Linked DNA regions of Homo sapiens: region 1 is linked to region 2. The links are contacts of gene promoters, found by promoter capture Hi-C in blood cells and fetal thymus (Javierre and others, 2016). All regions are on one chromosome and are shown on one strand. The core of a region is centred on a gene start or on the middle of the fragment in contact, and the rest is flanking DNA. Distances in the headings are between cores, read along the strand shown. Region 1 holds the start of TBX21 (T-box transcription factor 21). Region 2 holds the start of SCRN2 (secernin 2).

Evidence for each region. The method cuts DNA at HindIII sites, captures the fragments that hold promoters and counts their contacts. A CHiCAGO score of 5 or more calls a contact.
Region 1: a contact is called between the fragment with the promoter of TBX21 here and the fragment with the promoter of SCRN2 in region 2, in 1 of 17 cell types (M1 macrophages). The highest score is 5.2, in M1 macrophages.

What each region holds. Positions count from the first base shown.
Region 1 is chr17:47,730,719-47,734,485 of GRCh38, reverse strand. TBX21 (T-box transcription factor 21) reads right to left here and starts at 1,250. Exons shown (of 6, transcript NM_013351.2): 1 at 541-1,250. The coding sequence starts at 1,031. RefSeq lists an enhancer at 462-511, silencers at 692-861, 892-1,431 and a promoter at 1,243-3,242. The HindIII fragment of the contact is 7,327 bases long and covers 1-3,767 here.
Region 2 is chr17:47,840,023-47,843,563 of GRCh38, reverse strand. SCRN2 (secernin 2) reads left to right here and starts at 2,291. Exons shown (of 8, transcript NM_138355.4): 1 at 2,291-2,356; 2 at 2,721-2,894; 3 at 3,192-3,373. The coding sequence starts at 2,721. RefSeq lists enhancers at 392-441, 2,264-2,819, 2,723-2,822. The HindIII fragment of the contact is 11,110 bases long and covers 1-3,541 here.

The sequences.
Region 1 (3,767 bases), core at 1-2,500, 110 kb after region 2:
AATCTCCCCCCGTACACACACACCACCACCACCGCTACCACCACCACTACCACCACTAAAGCTGACCTGAGCACACCAGCAGCAAAGGAGCCGGGGGAGGTGGGCGCAGGGGGCCCGGAGATAAGGGGCTCCCTTCCCCTCCAGTTTCCCACACAGGAGGCCCAGGCGTCCTGTCCGCCCAGAGCACAGGCTTTCACTGCCCGCTGCGACTCCTCTACAGTAGAGAGTGGGGCAGGGGCGCACACCAATTCTAGGTGAAGCCACAGTCACCCTTCCCCTAAATCAAGGTGACTTCTCACTGTCCCGCACTCACCCGTCTCCCTTGTGAGTCCTCTGGCTGTTGGTGCAACAGCCTGGGCACAGACGCCCCTCCGGAGCTTTCCCTGTCCTCCTAACAACCCCATTCCCCTGTCTCCCTACGCTGAAGCCAAAGCAGTGAGGGACACGGAGTCAGAAGCATTGTCGAGCCAGAAAAACAGACGAGACGTTCTTGTTCCGGCGCGGGCACAGAGGCCCCAAGGGCCGGCGCGCCGCACTCACCGTCCCTGCTTGGTGATGATCATCTCTGTCTGGTGCTGATTAAACTTGGACCACAACAGGTGGTTGTTGAGCGCGACCCTCAGTTTCCCCGACACCTCCAGTCCCGCGGGTAGCGCGTAGTCCTCACGCGGCCCCGGGTAGAGCCCGGCGCGCGGGTCCGGGGCGGCGTAGCCCTCGCCCGGCTGGTAGCCCTCGGCGTCCGCGGGCGGCGGGAAGGACTCGCCCGCGCCGGGGAAGCCGGCCGCCTGGGGTCGCGGCGGGTAGGCGTAGGCTCCAAGGAAGCGGCTCGGCGGGGCGGGCACCAAGGCGCCCCCCGGGTAGGGAGACCCCAGGCTGCCGCCCCCGCGACGCTCGTCCGCGTCCTGCGCGCCCGGCTCCGGGTAGAAGTAGCGGTGCTGCGGGTCGGCGCCAGGCGCCCGGCCCTCGTCGCTCCCCGGCATCGGCTCGGTGCCCGTCAGCATGTCTCCGCAACCCGGCTCCACGATGCCCATCCGGGGCGGGCTGGCACCTTCCCGTAGCCGTCGAGGACCCGCCCCTCCGCGCGCGAGAGGGTCGCGTGGGCTGGGATGGGCAGGGAGCAGGGGGCGGGGGACCCGAGGGCCGGGTGGGGGACCCCACCGGAGCCCGGGCTCTGACGCCTGGCTTCTACGCCCTCGTCCGGCAGGCGCGCGGCAGCTCTCGGGCTTCCTCTCCAGCGGGCCGCTGTCACTAGAGTCGCAGCGCTTTGCTGTGGCTTTATGAAGCTCTCCGGCTCCCCCCCACTCCGCCACCTCGGCCCTGCTCCGCCTCGCCCCACCCCGCCCTCTCGTGGCTAATACTAGGCAAATTCTACGCTCTTGGCGAGTACTGCAGGGCCCCCCATGGTGGAGAGAAGCGAGAGCCTGCGCGCACCCTGTAGTTCGAAGATCTTGCTTTCTGGGAGTGTCAGCTCCGCTGCCTGACACACCAGCCCGTGGCTCTCTTCTGGACCCTCGGGGAAATTCAGCCCAGCTTTGAAGTCTCAGCTCAAAGGCCCTCTCCTACAGGAAGCCTTCCGAGATGGCCCAAGTGGGACTCGCTGGGCATTCTCCTGGCACTCAGAGGCTCGGAGCACGGGCACACTAGAAGCAACTTTGACCATGAACATTCAATCGATCTTTATTGATACCTACTGTGTGCCCAGACTCTGTGCTAAGTGACCTTTCGGGTTGCCCTCTTTCTCCCCACCAGAGGTCCACATGTGCTGAGTTGGCTGCATCTTGTAGCTCTAGCCCTGGGGGCAGACCTGGAACCTGATGGACAACAGGAAATGTTCCTTAAAGCGCACTGCATCAGCAGCAGCCAGGGGTTTGCAGGGCCCTGAGCTGGGCCTGGCAGGGCCCACAAAAGCTCCCCTACCCTGCATGGCAGTCATGGGCACTGGAAGTAGCATTGGGCTGCCAGTGCTGAGAGTCCCAGGTCTGGCTCTGCCTGCCAGGTATATGTGACCCAGGCAAGTCATTTTCCTTGCCTGAAAGTCAACCTCACGTGCCTCATCCATAGACTGGGGGAAATAAACAGATCTACTTTTCAGGGGGGCTGCAAGCCTTACATGAGAGGGTGTACGTGTGCAGCACTTTCCAATCTATTATTATACCTGGATGGAAAAGCTGCTTTGAACAGATTCAGAGCCGGCTGACAGGAAGGAAACCCACCACATGCTCTGAAGGGCTGCCTCGGAGATAGGACGATGGAGGCTTTTCTTTCTCCATTTTCCTTTTATGTTAACTAATGTATTAGACTCCTTTTATGATGAAAACTATCCGTTTCCCCCCCCCCAATTGAAAATAGCATCATTGGGAGTTTTCCTGTGTATAAAGATGAAACATACTTATATAGGAAATTTAAGCAGCACAGAAAAGTAAAAACAAGACTGTATAAATCACCCCAAATTCCACCCCCTAAAGCCAAACAGGATTAACATTTCAGTGAACACCCTCTGAGACCTCACTCCTTATATACTCTCTGTCTCTGTCTTTTGCACACATGCACAAATATATAATTTATATAAACACTACACATGCTGCTTTATAATGTGTACTTTTTTTTCACTCCACAAGGTGTCATGGAATATTTTGCATATCAGTATATAGATAAAGATTTACATTTTTAAGAGTACTTTGAAAAATACTTTAATATTTTTGTCATGTTAAAGTTTAACTTCTCCTCTCTCTACCTTCACCCCAGTCCTCCCCAGTTCTCCCCTGGGAACTGGCCCCAGCTCTACATTTCTGTCCCAGCCTGACAGGGCTTCACCCTTAGGGGCCTATGGGGACTCTCTGCTCCCAAATAGAGCTGAACCAAGAGGCAAGTTGGCAGGCAAAGGCAAAGCTGGGGACTCCAGGAGGTGGGCATGACCCAGGGAGGCTTGGGGGAGAGAGAATCAGCACATCTTTTGAGGTTGGAGACCGGATACATGACAGTACCAGAAACACAGGACTGGCCTCCTCCCCAACACCTTACCCACCATTTCTCCGTACCTTAAGGAACAGGGAAGTTTCTGCCTGATGTTCAAAGTGGGGCAGCATTGCTTGGAAGAGAGGGTGACCTTGGGATCCTTCACTACTTTTGGGGAAACATGAGAGCTTTCAGTAAGACCCTCCTGAATGACTGATTCCCTAGGAGATGTGAGACTGTTGAATGCTGACACCCCTTTGGGGGACATTTTTGCTCAGTGCTTGGCTGTTGAAGATCAAATGGAGTCTTGCTCCTCCCTCTCTCTCCCCCTCCTCTTTTCCACATTAATCCTCAGGTCAAGTGATTCATCCCCTTGCCTCTGAACAGGATGACATGAGCTCCCACCCAGCTTTCTGGGGCAGGTGGAATTATGAATCTCAGAATCAGGTGGCCCTGGGGCCATGCCTCTGGAGGAAGAGGAAGGCTGGGGGTGGTCTCTCTAGAACCTGACAGGCTGTTATAGGGTCTTACAGCCTGGTTCCTCAATCCCCGATTTCTCACCCCCTCTCTCCAATTTCTTCCACCCAAAAAAGAAAGTGCTTGTGAAAAGCGGGGGCTGAGTGGCCCTGGTGTCACTGCTGCCAGTCCCGCCCCTCTGCCAGCTTGGGTGAGAATAAGGGCCCTGGCAGTGACACCTTCTCCTCCAGCTGCCACCTCACCCTCCTCCCGGGCCCTGGGGCTGGAAAGGTGGGAGAAGAGGAGTGAGGAGATGAGGCCCCCTGGGATCCCCTCACTTCCCCATGGCTGCTCCT
Region 2 (3,541 bases), core at 1,042-3,541:
TCTGACACTTGCTTCCTTGCTGGAAATGCTGCCTGGCTGGCCTGCCCCCCATCCCCCCCACGACGGAACCCAAAGCCACCTCTGACCCCCCTCAGATGGGGTGCCTGGCAGGAGGATCATGGATGGCCCAGGAAAGGGTTAGGGAAATCAGAACATCTGGGCTGGCTCTCTGGGTTCCTCTCCTGGGAAGTGGAAGTAGAATCTACTCCTAACCTCTAGGGTGGGTGAATGAAATAAGAAATGAGAAAGTGACAGAGAAGAAGACAGCCTGGAAACTGCAACCTGGGGGTGCGCTGTGGCCTCTCTCTGCCTCTCCTCCTGCCTGTTTCCGCCCCACAGTGGGAAGCCGGGAAACTGCAGGAGATGAACCCGCCTTCCTGCAAGCTGCTTCAGGTGCCCAGATTTCTCAGCACGCAGCTTCGATGTTTGCTTCTGGAATGACATTAATTGGCAACCTCACAATCCCTCCCCGACACTGTATCAGAAACAGCCTTCACCTTCCCATTAATCCTAGCATGACTGACCGCCAGCACCCTAGCACAGTAGGCTTGAAAGAAGGCCAAACTCCACTAAAACACTGTTAGAATTGTTTTCTTTCTTTCTTTCTTTCTTTTTTTTTTTTTTGAGACGGAGTTTTGCTCTTGTTGCCCAGGCTGGAGTGCAATGGCGCGATCTCAGCTCACCGCAACCTCCGCCTCCCAGGTTCAATCGATTCTCCTGCCTCAGTCTTCCCAAGTAGCTGGGATTGCAGGCATGTGCCACCACGCCTGGCTAATTTTGTATTTTTAGTACAGATGGGGTTTCTCCACGTGAGCCAGGCTGGTCTTGAACTCCCAACCTCAGGGGATCCGCCCACCTCAGCCTCCCAAAGTGCTAGGATTACAGGCATGAGCCACCACACCCGGCCCACTGTTAGAATTGTTAAGCAAATACAGTAAAGTCAGAGGATACAAGGTCAATGTACAAAAGTCAATAGTGTTCCTATACACTAATAACAAACTATACAAAAAAGAAATCAAGAAAATAGTCCCATTTACAATAGCTACCAAAATAATAAAATATTTAGGAATAAATTTAACCAAAGAGGTGAAAGATCTGTACTCTGAAAATAAGATATTGATGAAAGAAACTGAAGAAGACACAAAGACATGGAAAGATATTTCATGCTCACGGATTGGAAGAATTACTATTGCTAAAATGTGCATACTACTCAAAGCCATCTATAGATTCAGTGCAACCCCTAGAAGCAGATAACCTGCAGCATCTCCCCTCTCTCCATTCTGGAGGGCTCCACAGAGCAAAAGGGTGTAAGATGCATTTGTCTTAATGATGGCTATGGAGAGATGGTTTGTAGAGAAAAATGAACTGAAAATCAAAACATTTGGGATCAGAGTGTACCTCCACATGACTGTGTGTCACCTTTGGCCAAGACTTCTTTGTGGTTTCAGTTTCACTACAGGTAAAGGCACCAAATCTTTGAACTAGAAAGTTCTAAATTTCCCTTTAAAGCGATCTTCCTATGGGTTTGAGCACTATCAGACAGATAGGTCCTCTGGGATCAGATGGGTTTTGTGCACACTTTCCCTTATTTATTTATTTTAAGAGACAGGGTCTTGCTCTGTCACCGCGGCTGGAGTACCGCGGTGTGATCTTGGCTCACTGCAGCCTCAATCTCTCTGGCTCAAGAGATCCTCCCACCTCAGCCTTCAGAGCAGCTGGGACTAGAGGCACGCACCACCACGCCCAGCTAATTTTAAAATATTTTCTGTAGAGGCGAGGTCTTGCTGTGTTACCCAGGCTGGTGTTGAACTCCTGGGTTCAAGTGATCCTCCCACCACCGCCTCCCAGAGTGCTGGGATTACAGGTGCGAGCCCCCCGCACCCAGCCTCCACCACTCTCGTATTCTGTATCTTATTCCCCTAGGCGCCTCCAGCCTGGGATTGCGCCTCTGGGATTCAAACCAGGACTCAAGTATCTGAGGTTCTTCCTTAATCTCCAGATGTCCCAGCAGTCCCCTTTCTCTGACAAAGTCTCCCTTTTCACGCGGGATCCTTTCCACCCCCAGCTCCAGCTCCCCGCAGTGACTCCGTGGGGTTAGCAGCCTTTGTCAGGCCTCAAATGGGCGCCTGGGTAGGACAGGGAGCCAGGTGGGACTCGCAAGGCCGCTCTGCTCCGGGAAGTGGTGCAGGCGCGCGCCCTGGTGGAAAACGGCGGAGCTGCAGGCTCCGTTCCGGCTCCGACCCCGAGGCCGAAGGCCTTCCAGGTCACCTGAGAGTCTCCGCCCAATGGGGCGGCCCTGGCCAGAAGCGGAGGAGGTGGCACCCGGGACCGAGCTGGGGTCTTGGAGGAAGAGAGGGTGAGGGGAATACAGTACTGGGGGTGAGAGAAGGGTTGGACAGAAGAGGGTCGGGTATCTGGGCATGCGCAGGGCCGCAGGACTCTTGGTGGGGTAGCGAGGGGGACGGTCCCACGACTGCTCCGAAGGGCCGGGACTCCCAGTGGGGGCGGGACCCCCGGAGTGCCCGCCTGCGGACTCCCAAGCCTGGAGCCTGGGGAGAGGGTGGGCACCTCCGTTCCCGCACACCCGTCCATGGTGTGTGCGCCGAGCGTCCAGGAGCCACGGCGGTGTCTTCCTTGCGCGTCTTTTACACGTGTGGGGGTAGGCTGCTCCTCGGGGCTGAGCCGTGGCCAGGGTTATGGAGAGGCCCGCCTCTCCCCAGATGGCGTCGTCGAGCCCTGACTCCCCATGTTCCTGCGACTGCTTTGTCTCCGTGCCCCCGGCCTCAGCCATCCCGGCTGTGATCTTTGCCAAGAACTCGGACCGACCCCGGGACGAGGTGCAGGAGGTGGTGTTTGTCCCCGCAGGCACTCACACTCCTGGGAGCCGGCTCCAGGTGGGTTAGACTTTATGGGGTGCTGGGAGGTGTGGCAGATCTCTGCATTCTTTTAAGACCTTCTTCCCTGCTCCCCACACCTGGGAGGCTGCCAGAAGTAGTGGAAGAGCATGAGCTTTAGGTCTACCAACCTGGACCTGAGCTCATTATGTAGCCTCAGTCTACCTCAGTTTCCTCTTCTGTAAAATGGGAATGAGACCTTCCTCAAAGGGATCTATAAGGTAATTGGCAGAGTGCCACACTCGAGGGGCCGCCCCTCTATGAGTGGACGCTTCCTTTCTCCTCCCTCACCTCCAGTGCACCTACATTGAAGTGGAACAGGTGTCGAAGACGCACGCTGTGATTCTGAGCCGTCCTTCTTGGCTATGGGGGGCTGAGATGGGCGCCAACGAGCATGGTGTCTGCATTGGCAACGAGGCTGTGTGGACGAAGGAGCCAGTTGGGGAGGGGGAAGCCCTGCTGGGCATGGACCTACTCAGGTGCAGACCCTGCCCTTCCTCATCTGCCTGACACACCAGAAATCTAGGGGCTGAGTTTTGACCTGGGCCCATCCATCCCTCCCCCAGCCTGGTTCACAGGGGCCTCCTCCTCTCTGCAGACTTTGCCCTTGTGCCTTCGTGAAGAAGGCTGCAGCAGCAGCCACCTTT